2 separate regions of the Homo sapiens genome follow, and region 1 is linked to region 2. The links are contacts of gene promoters, found by promoter capture Hi-C in blood cells and fetal thymus (Javierre and others, 2016). All regions are on one chromosome and are shown on one strand. The core of a region is centred on a gene start or on the middle of the fragment in contact, and the rest is flanking DNA. Distances in the headings are between cores, read along the strand shown.

Region 1 (5,742 bases), core at 401-2,900, 620 kb before region 2:
TAGGGATGGTGGGGACATGGCTGTGTAGGTGACTATCATGGGGTGGCTCCCAAGGGTGATTTTTGTGGCAATGGGACAGTTTTGTATTTTGATTGTAATAGTTACATGAAACTACACATATGATAAGATGACACACATTGGGTCGGGCTTGGTGGCTCACGCCTGTAATCCCAGCATTATGGGAGGCTGAGATGGGCAGATCACCTGAGGTCAGGAGTTAGAGATCAGCCTGGCCAACAAGGTGAAACCCTTTCTCTACTAAAAATACAAAAACTAGCCAGGTGTGGTGGCGGGCTACGTATAGTCCCAGCTACTCGGGAGGCTGAGGCATGAGAATGGGTTGAACCTGGGAGGCAGAGGTTGCAGTGAGCTGAGATCGCGCCACTGCACTCCAGCCTGGGCGAGAGAGTGAGACTCTGTCTCAAAAAAGAAAAAAAAAAAAGATGACGCACATTGCACCAATGTCAATTTTCCCGGTTTTGATGTTGTACCATAGTTATGTAAGATATTGTCACTGGGAGAAACTGTGTGAAGTGTAAATGGGGACATCTCGATACTATCCTTGCAACTTCTGTGAATCTATAATTGTTTCCAAATAAAATGTTCAACAAAACCCTACGTGCACATGCACACACAGACACAAACATAAGCAAAGTCAAAAGACAAATGACAAACAGGCAAAAAAATTCTTTTCTTTCCCAGAACAAGACCCAAATTGATTCAGCAGACATTTTAATTAGGAAATCCTATAAATCAGGACCACTTTTAATTTCAGACACTCCGTTATGAAGCGTACATCTACATCTGGAGGATGAACAGGCCATTGAATCTCTTAAAAACTGGCTTTGCTACCTTCGCATTTGGGGGTAGGACCTTCGTAAGACACCATTAAGCTTCAAAGGGCAAAGCCTGTGATTTCTCCTCGGGGAAAGCCACATTTTAAAACCAGCTTCGGTCACAAAGAACAGCTGCATGGGAGAAGGAGACAAACCGCACGGGGAGGATGTGCAGAGCCTGAGGCCCACAGCTTCACAGAGGCCAGCACAGAGCAGAAAAACATCCAGGGTCTCTTGTCCATTCCTACAGACACCAGCAAGGATGGAATAAGAAAGTTGGGCTGGGAGGATGGGAGAGAGGCTCAAGAGATTGTTTAGGTGGGCCCAGTGGCTCACGTCTATAATCCCAGCATTTTGAGAGGCCAAGGCAGGAAGATTGCTTGAGGGCGGGAGTTTGAGATCAGCCTGAGCAACATAATGAGATCCCATCTCTACACAAAAATACAAAAATTAGGCGGGGCGCGGTGGCTCATGCCTGTAATCCTGGCACTTTGGGTAGCCGAGCAGGGGGTGGATCACGAGGTCAGAAGTTCAAGACCAGCCTCGCCAAGATGGTGAAACCCCGTCTCTACTAAAAATACAAAAATTAGCCAGGCGCTGTGGCAGGTGCCTGTAATCCCAGCTACTTGGGAGGCTGAGGAAGGAGAATCGCTTGAACCTGGGTGGCAGAGGTTACAGTGAGCCGAGACCATGCCACTGCACTCCAGCCTGGGCAACAGAGCGAGACTCCGTCTCAAAAAAAAAAAAAAATTAGCCAGCATGGTGGTGGCATGCACCTGTGCTCCCAGCTACTAGGGAGACTAAATCAGGAGGATCACTTGAGCCCAGGAATTTAAGGCTGCAGTGAGCCAAGATTGTGCCACTGCACTCCAGCCTCGGCAACAGTTTTTAAAAAGCCAGTTTTTAAAAGATTCAATGGCTTATTCATCCCCTAGAGGTAGATGTACACTTCATAACGGAGTGTCTGAAATTAAGAGTGGTCCTGATTTATAGGATTTCCTAATCAAAATGTCTGCTGAATCAATTTGGGTTTTATCTTGGAAGAAAAAAGATTTTTTTTTTTTGCCTGTTTGTCATTTGTCTTGTTGTTTGTCATTTGTGAGACCTTGTCTGAAAACAAAAAAAGGAAAAAGATTGTGACTGCTTCTGAGAAAGCTCCTGGTGTGGCTAGAGTGGCCTTGTGGGAAAAGAACAAATTCTGTAAAGAAGAAAGCAAGAAAAAGCAAGTACTTCTCCCCACACATCCCCTCGCCCGTTTGCGTCCTCTGGAGACTCCAGGCAGTAGCGGAGCACAAACAGGGCTCTTCTCGGCGTGAGACAGAAAAGACACCGCGGTGAGTTAGCTTTCCCAGGAACTGCACGGCCTCCCACCTACAGCCAACCCTGATCTTGAACCGCGACTGGCAGGGTTGAGTCCTTTACAAGCGCACACTCAAATTCAACTCTCAAATTCCCCTTCAAAACTGTCCAGGTCCCTCCAGTCCCCTAAATGGAGTTGACATCTCCCACCTTCTCCAGCCATAAACCGGTGGGAGAAAGGGTCGGCCCCAACCCACCCACGGCCAAGCTTTTACATTTTCTCCCCGACCCCGTAACACCACCTTCACTAAGTTCCTCCACCGAAAATCACAACGAAATGTATGCGTGTCCTCAGTTTTTAGTATTGTTATAGCCCTCAAGATTCCCAACCCTCGGAGCCCTGTCTTTAAAGAATCCAACCTCACGATGCCCCCAAGGGCTAAGACAGGCTCACGGTGATGCCAGCGGCTGCCCCCGCTCTCCCCGTCTATCCCCGGTCTTTGGCCCCGACGGCCACCAGTGCGTTCCTTCCCTGCAGCCCACACCACTTCTCCCACCCAGAGGTGGGGTCTATTTCCTATTCCTTAAATCTGGGCTGACCTTGTGACTTTCTATGACCAAAGGAATGCAGAAGTGACATTTCCTGACGTTGGAATCCAGGCCTTAAGAGGACTGGCAGCTTCTGTTTCCTCCCTCTTGAAAGCCAGCTGCTATGTAAGAAGGCTGACTTCCCTGAGACCACCACGCTGTGAGGAGGCCCCAGCCGAGGTGACGTGGCTATGCAGACGAGCACAAAGGCACTCGACAAGTGAGTGAAGGCTTGGTGGACCATCCAGCTCAGCCAAGCTGCCGGCCAAATGTAGCCGAGTGAGTAAGCCCAGCTGGTAGCAAGTAGAGCAAGAGCCACCCAGCTGTGCCCACTCGACCCGCAGAATCCTGAGGAATAATAAATTATGTCGCTTTAAGCCATTAGGTTTTGAGGTAGTTTGTCATGCAGTAATAGATAAAGATAGCTTTTACTTTCCTAAGAAAGAGACCAAGGACTACAAAGAAAAAATGGGCAAAAGAAAGAAATAGTTCATACAGAATGAAATGCAAATGATCCTTAAACATCAAGAGATGCTCAACCCCAGTTGTAATAAGAGAAATGCAAATTAAATTGCCCTTAGACATCATTTTGCGCAATTCAATTTGGCAAAAATCCAAAATTGTAAAATACATCGTTGGTGTGGCTGTGAGGAAACAGGTTTGGTTGTGGAGAATACAAAATTGTACAAACCTTATGGAGAGCAGTTTGGCATTGCTTATAAAAAATACAAATGTATTGGCCGGGCGCGATGGCTCATGCCTGTAATCCCAGCACTTTGGGAGGCCGAGGCGGGTGGATCACGAGGTCAGGAGATCGAGACCATCCTCGCTAACACAGTGAAACCCCGTCTCAACTAAAAATACAAAAAATTAGCCAGGCATGGTGGCGGGCACCTGTATTCCTAGCTACTCAGGAGGGTGAGGCAGGAGAATGGCGTGAACCCGGGAAGCGGAGCTTGCAGTGAGCTGAGATGGTGCCACTGCACTCCAGCCTGGGCGACAGAGCAAGACTCCGTCTCAAAAAAAACAAAAAACAAACAAACAAACAAAAAAATGTATTTATCCTTTGACCCAGCAATCCTACCTCTGAAAATCTATTCTACAGACAGATATTCACGAGTATAAAATGACCCATGAACGAGGTTATACACTACAGCACTGTTTGTAATGGTAAAAGCTTGGAAACAAGCCAAGGGCCTGCCCATGGGGAGCTGGCTGAATAAACATGAAACACAACTGGAAGAAAGAATAAGGAGCTACTTCAGGATATAGTAAGAAAAAAAAGAAGGTGCAAGATACTGTATCAATGATGTTACCTTTCTGTAAGAAAAGAGTGGAAAATAGGAATAAATATATTTGCATTTCCTTGTTGTAGTTGTATAAAGAAATACAGAAAAATAAACAGAAAATGAATAAAAATGGTTATGTGAGTGTGAGAGAGACAATTGTGGGGAAGATGAAGATGGGAGTTAGAATTTTTTTTGTATAGTTTTATACCCCATTTTAATTTTTAATTTTTTAGAGACACAGTCTTGCACTCTTGCCCAGGCTGGAGGTGCAATGGTGTGATCATGGCTCACTGCAGCCTCGAACTTCTGGGCTTAAGCAGTCCTCTTGCCTCAGCCTCTCGAGTAGCTGGGAATACAGGCACACACCACTATGCCCGGCTAAATACAGGCACACGGCACTATGCCTGGCTAAGTTTAATTAAAAATTGTAGAGATGGGGCTTCGCTATGTTGCCTAAGCTGGTCTTGAACTCTTGGCCTCAAGTGATCCTCCTGCCTTGATCTCCCAAAGTGTTGAGGTTATACGTGTGAGCCACCGTGCCCAGCCTATACTTATTTTATGCCTCATCATGTCATTTTGACTTTTGAACCATGCAAACATGCAACAAATTAAAAGCCAATCTCGGCCCGGCACTGGTGGCTCATGCCTGTAAGCCCAGCACTTTGGGAGGCCGAGGCGGGCAGATCACGAGGTCAAGAGATTGAGACCATCCTGGCCAACATGGTGAAACCCCATCTCTACTAAAAATACAAAAATTATCTGGGCATGGTGATGGGTGCCTGTAGCCCCAGCTACTCGGGAGGCTGAGGCAGGAGAATCGCTTGAACCCGGGAGGCGGAGGTTGCAGTGAGCCGAGATCACGCCACAGCACTCCAGCCTAGGTGACAGTGTGAGACTCTGTCTAATAAAAAAAAAAAAGTCTCAGGTGGAGAATGAAACAGAAGGGAGTGGCTGTTGATGTCGCTGGGATTTCTTTTAAGGATGCTGAAAATGTTCTAAAATTAGATGGTGGTGTTGGTTGTACCACTGTGAATATTCTAAAAATCATTAAACTGTATGCTTCACATGGGTGAATTTTATGGTATGTGGAATATATCTCAATAAAGCTGTAAGAAAAGAAGTAAGGCACACATACACCCCAAAACTTTCAGGAGTGAAAAAGAAGATACATCTCAGGTACAGCAAAGATTAAAATGACAGTAAAAAGTACTATGGCTTTGATACAGAAGTGCTGGGAAGGGAAGGGCACGGTCCCTGGCTAGGGCTCCACCCCCAGGCCTGCGCCCACGGACCTAGGTGAGGACAGGCATTTTTGTTTTCCTGCCCATATATTGCATTTTCCAAGACTACCCTGGCCGGCCACGTCCCTATCCTGTGCCTATAGAAACCCGAGACCCTAGCGGGCAGACACGCAGGTGGCTGGACAGAGAAGCACGTCAGCAGAGGAACACACGGGCGGCTGGACGTTGACAGGAGCACATGGGTTGAAGAGCACGCCCATAGGCACAGGCAGAGGCCGGCACGCCGGCAGGCCATTGACCGGGGGAATGACATGGAGTTTGGCTGAAGTGGTCGGAGAAGAGTCCAGCCGCTGAGTGGCTGACTCCAGGGGAAAACCATCTCCCTTCTGGCTTTGCCATCTTCTGACAGCTACTTCCACTCAATAAAACCTCGCACTCATTCTCCAAGCCCACGTGTGGTCCGATTCTTCCGGGACACCAAGGCACCTG
Region 2 (5,362 bases), core at 1,444-3,943:
CTTTAATCCCAGCACTCCGGGAGGCTGTGGCTGGTGGATCACGAGGTCAGGAGATTGAGGCCATCCTGGCCAACATGGTGAAACCCCGTCTCTACTAAAATACAAAAAAAAATTAGCCGGGCGTGGTGGCACATGCCTGTAGTCCTAGCTACTCAGGAGGCTGAGGCAGGGGAATTGCTTGAACCAGGGAGGCGGAGGTTGCAGTGAGCCGAGATCGCGCCACTGCACTCCAGCCTGGGTGACAGAGCAAGACTGCCTCTCAAAAAAAAAAAAAAAAAAAAAAGATAATGCCACGCTGCAGAAGCACTCTGGTATCGCGTGGCTGCATCTGCCCATACTCTGAAAGACGCACCACAGGGACGACTGGGTGGTCCGACGGAACTCAGAGCCAGGCATACTTGGACTGTACTCAGGTTACTTAACTTTTCTGAGCCTCAGTTTCCTCACATGTAAAACAAGAATTGTAATTGTTGTGCTACTGTGCGAGTGAGAGAACAAATGTAAAGCCCTCAGCCCATTCCCTGGTATGCTAGACACTCGGTGGACATTAGTATTGTTAGATAAAAAAATGAATAAAGGATAACATCGTCTGGGTCCTAAACACATTGTACAGCAGTTTCTATCTACCAACATTAACATTAATATATTAAGACAATAATGTCACTCAGCAAACACAACCACCATATGCTGAGCAGTAACTACTCAGTGCCCAGCCCTGATCCGAACACTTTCCACACACTAACTCATGTGATCCCTTCATCTACGCTGGGAGGTGGGCACGGCTGTTATTCCCATTTTACAGGTGAGAAAACTGAGGCACAGAGAGGTGAAGCCCAAGGCCCACAAACAGCAACAGAGGAGATGGGTTAAAACGCTGCCATCTGGCTTAACAGCCCTACTTCCTAACTACCACCTACGCTGCCTCTGCACTATTGCTATCCCATGAAACCCTTCCTGCCGCTAGCTGAGGGGTCTTCTGTGTCCTGCGAGTCAAGCGACCTCTCCAACTCTGTTCACTCTCGTCTCAACTAGAAAGGGTGGCCTCCTCATTCCCACTACACAAAAATGAAAACGGTCTACAATAGATTTCAAGACAGTGATACAAGCAAAGAATATGATTCACAAAGTTAAGAGGGACAAAAAACTAACAACGATGCGTTGGAGAAGCCTGGGGAAGGGGTGGTGTTATGAGGATTCTCAGGGGTGAAAAGAGAAAGTATTCCTGCGAAGGACAGGAACGGAGACATGGGTGAGTGGAGGAGGCAGGGATTTTTCCCACGTGTGTACGTTTGCTCTTAGTGACAGACAGACTTGTGGTATCTTACTTGTCAAACTAGTCACACAATGGATGAAGATTCGTGAACAAACTGTTAATTAAAAACCACTAGACACGGGTGGGGAGGGTGGGTGGTCCTCCCTACAGAATCCACCAGTCATGAGGGCGGACCAGCTCCTCCAAGAGAAAAGGACTTGGGCTCCATCCTGGCTGGAGATGGTCCCGGGTGAAGAACTCCAGTTAGTGGGGAAAATCCATCCACTGGGATCTGGGAGGGCAATGAGCTCACCTGGGGCCTCGCTTCCCGCTGCCCAGCAGCCATGTCCTCTTTCTGGCTCTCCCGGGAGGACGGCGCAGTCTCCAGAAGGCAGATCTGAGAAGAAAAAGGGAGCCAGGAAGAACCCCTTCTGCTTTCCAGCCCTGGAATCCGCAGCTCTAAAACCCCGACTCCCGCTGAGAAGGACCCCGCGCGCCCTCACAGGGATTCGGGAGGAGCCAGGAGCCCGCGGACCAGAGCAGCGCTGGGCCGCCCGGCCAGGCCCAGGCCCCACAGGCTTGGGGCTTACGGAGGGGACGCTGGACCCGCAGTGGCAGCAGCGACCCGCTGAGCCCACCAGGGCCAGGGCTCGCCCCACGCCGCTGAGTTCCTCGGCGCCAGCTGGCACTGCCAGCACCCACTGCACCGCTCAGGAAACTGAGGCAGCGCCGGGGCACCTGCCCCGTTCACGCCGCTGCGAGGCGGGCCGGGACTCCCACCACGACGGCCCCGGGACGACTTCCCTCCGCCTCAAGCCTTTCCCAGCCGGTTCCTCTCTCTCCCGCCAACGAATCGTCTCCCGACTCCACGGAAAACGGCTTTGAAGAGGAAAGCGCTGGGTGTCCCGAGGCAGGAGGAGTGGCCGTCCTGGGGACTGACTCAGAAACCGGGCCCGGCTGCCTCTGCCCTGCGCTCGGGGTCCCGGCGCCCCGAGTCCGCGAGGCCCACACGGCGCGCGCAGGGTGGGCCCGGGAGGAAACGCCTGGCCCCGCGTTCACGGCGGGCGGCGCGAGCCAGAGGCAGGGGCGTCGGCAGCGGCACCGGAGCGGCCCGTGAGGGGCGAGAGTCCAAGTCCTGGCGCGGGGGCCGGTGACAGACGCGGGGGTGCCCCCCCGCGCCCACAGAGGCCCTCGGAGCCCCGCGGCCTCAGGTCGCCCTGGCGCCAGGCGCCGCCTCCTCCCGGCACAGCCAGCCATGCCGCTCACCTCCCCAGGATCCCGCGTTCCCGGGCCGCGCCTCCCCGCCGCACTCTGCAAGCAGGAAGCTCCAGCCTCGTGACCCGGCTCCTCCGACGTCTGGGCGACCTCAAGCCCGGCGCCGCTCACCGGGCAGCGAAAGCTCCGCAGAGCGCCTGGGACCTAGAGGAGCAAGGCGGCCGCTAAGGCCTCTAGGAAATGGAGTCCACGGGAGGACGCTGGCTTTCTGGGAAGTGTAGTTCCACGCGTTTGAGGCGAGGTCGCAGCTGAGCTGTTAGGCGCCCAGACCTATGAGAGGGCCCGGGTGAGCTGTAGAGCCCCGGGTTCCTGGTTCTTCGGAAGAGAAGGGGAGGTTCCCGGAGGGCAGTAACTTGCAACTCTGTGTGTGAATTTCAGGATGGCGTGGGCGGCACGAAAACAACTACTACACAATTGGGAAAGGAAAATCCCCTGCAAAAGATGTTGACAAAGCTGGATTTCCACGTGCAAAAGATGAGCCTGTACCCTGACCGTACACCATACATAAAAATTAACTCAAAATTGATTAAAAACCTAAATGTGAGACCAAATTATTTTATAAATTACTAAAGTAAAAAGGGAAAAAACTTCAGGATGTTGGAGATGGCAATGATTTCTTGAATATGACATCAGAAGCACAGATAACAGCAAAAATAGACAAATGGGACTACATCAAACTTAAAAACTTTGGCTAATCAAAGGAAACAAAGGCAATCTACAGAATAGACGAAAATGCTTACATATCATATATCTGATTTGCAATGTATCCTGGATTTATATGGAACTTTTACAACTCAACAACAATAACAAAACCAAATAACCTGATTTTAAAATGGACAAAGGACTTGAATAGGCAATTCTCCAATGAAGATATACAAATGAGCAATGAGCAACAAGCATATAAAAAGATGGTAAACATCTCTAGGTATAAGAGAAATATAAACCCAAACTCAATGAGAAATCACTGCACCTCCATTAGGATGGCCACTATCAAAAGGATGTAAATTGGTACAATCATTACAGAAAACGGTATAGAGGTTCCTCAAAAAATTATAACTAGAGCTACATTAGGATCCACCAATCCCATTTCTGGCTATAGATCCAGAGGAAGTGAAACTCCGTGAGATACCTGCACTCCCATGTTAGCTGCAACATTATTCACCATGGCCAAGATATGGAAACAACTATCTGTTGATGGATGAATAGATAAAGGAAATGTTTTGTTTGTTTGTTTGTTTGGGACGGTGTCTTGCTCTGTCACCCAGGCTGGAGTGCAATGGCGCAATCTTGGCTCACTGCCACCTCCGCCTTCCAGGTTCAAGCAGTTCTCTGCCTCAGTCTCCCAAGTAGCAGGGATTACAGGCACCCGCGACCACGCCCAGCTAATTTTTGTAGTTTTAATAGAGATGGGGTTTCACCATCTTCACCAGGCTGGTCTTGAACTTCTGACCTCGTGATCCACCCTCCTCGGCCTCCCAAAGTGCTCGGATTACAGGCGTGAGCCACCGAGCCCGGCCACAATGTGTTTATATACACAAAGGAATATTATTCTGCCTTAAAAAAATAAAGAAATCCTGACATATGTGACAATATGGATGAACCCGGAGGACATTATGTTAAGTGAAATAAAGAAGGCACAGAAATACAAATACTGCATTATTTCATTTACACGTAGAATCTAAAATAGTCAAAATCATAGAAGAAAGTAGCATGGTGATTTCCCTGTGTGTTAATTACCAATCTTCCCATATAGGTAATTCCATATGGCACAACTGTCCCTTACTTGTAGAGCCACGCCCACCCTGTTGCCATGAACTGCAGGTGTCCTTCCATGGTTGCTTGCCCAGTGCAAGGCCCTGTTATCTCTCTCTACACTACTCTACACTTCCACAAGCTGCTGCTTCTGTTTTTTTTTGTTGTTGTTGTTGTTGTTTGTTTTTGTTTTTGAGAGACGGGGTCTCACTATGTTGCCCAGGCTGGTCTCAAACGCCTAGGCTCAAGTGATCCTCCCGCCTCGGCCTCCCAAAGTGCTGGGATTACAGGCGTGAGCCACTATGCCTGGTGTAAAAAAGATTTTTTAACAAAAATGAGATGTTTTATTGTCTTCTCTTTGCAATTAGAGTGAAAGCCAGAATCCTTGTTGTGGGCCCTAAACCATATGGCTTTTGACTCCTTTTCCAGTATCTACTGTTTTTCTTCTACACTCTGCTTCTCAGCACAAAGCCGAATGTGTTGCTGTCTTCCATAAAAATCCTTCCTCCAGTCGGGTGTGGTGGCTCACACCTGTAATCCCAGCACTTTGAGAAGCTGAGGCAAGTGCATCACTTGAGGCCAGGGGTTTGAGACCAGCCTGGCCAACATGGTGAAACCCCGTCTCTACTAAAAATACAAAAACTAGCCAGGCGTGGTGGGGCACGCCTGTAATCCCAGCTACTCAGGAGACTGAGGCAGGAGACTCTCTTGAACCCAGGAGGGCAGAGGTTTCAGTGAGCTGAGATTGTACCACTGCATTCCAGCCTGGGCAACAGAGCGAGACTCTGTCTCAAATAAATAAATAAACAAATCCTTTCTCAGCTGGGCACAGTGGCTCATGCCTGTAATCCCAGCACTTTGGGAGGCCCAAGTGGGTGGATGACCTGAGGTCAGACCAGGCTGACCAACATAGTGAAACCCCATCTCTACTAAAAATACAAAATTATCCAGGCGTGGTGGCACATGCCTATAATCCCAGCACTTTGGGAGGCTGAGGTGGGACAACTGCTTGAGCCCAGGAGTTTGAGACCAGCTTGGGCAGCATAGTGAGATCCTGTCTCTACAAAAAAAAAAAAATTATGA

What was found. The method cuts DNA at HindIII sites, captures the fragments that hold promoters and counts their contacts. A CHiCAGO score of 5 or more calls a contact.
Region 1: a contact is called between a fragment that was not itself captured here and the fragment with the promoter of ZNF354B in region 2, in 1 of 17 cell types (M0 macrophages). The highest score is 5.8, in M0 macrophages.

What each region holds. Positions count from the first base shown.
Region 1 is chr5:179,472,577-179,478,318 of GRCh38, reverse strand. No RefSeq gene overlaps it. Among named protein-coding and RNA genes, the nearest start is that of RUFY1, 75 kb to the left of the region's middle. RefSeq lists enhancers at 4,934-5,433, 5,434-5,742. The HindIII fragment of the contact is 1,510 bases long and covers 896-2,405 here.
Region 2 is chr5:178,857,284-178,862,645 of GRCh38, reverse strand. It overlaps ZNF354B (zinc finger protein 354B), which reads right to left and starts at 2,693. Exons shown (of 5, transcript NM_058230.3): 1 at 2,519-2,693; 2 at 1,566-1,649. The coding sequence starts at 1,598. RefSeq lists silencers at 2,127-2,206, 2,287-2,486 and enhancers at 2,627-2,826, 2,111-2,843. The HindIII fragment of the contact is 7,869 bases long and covers 1-5,362 here.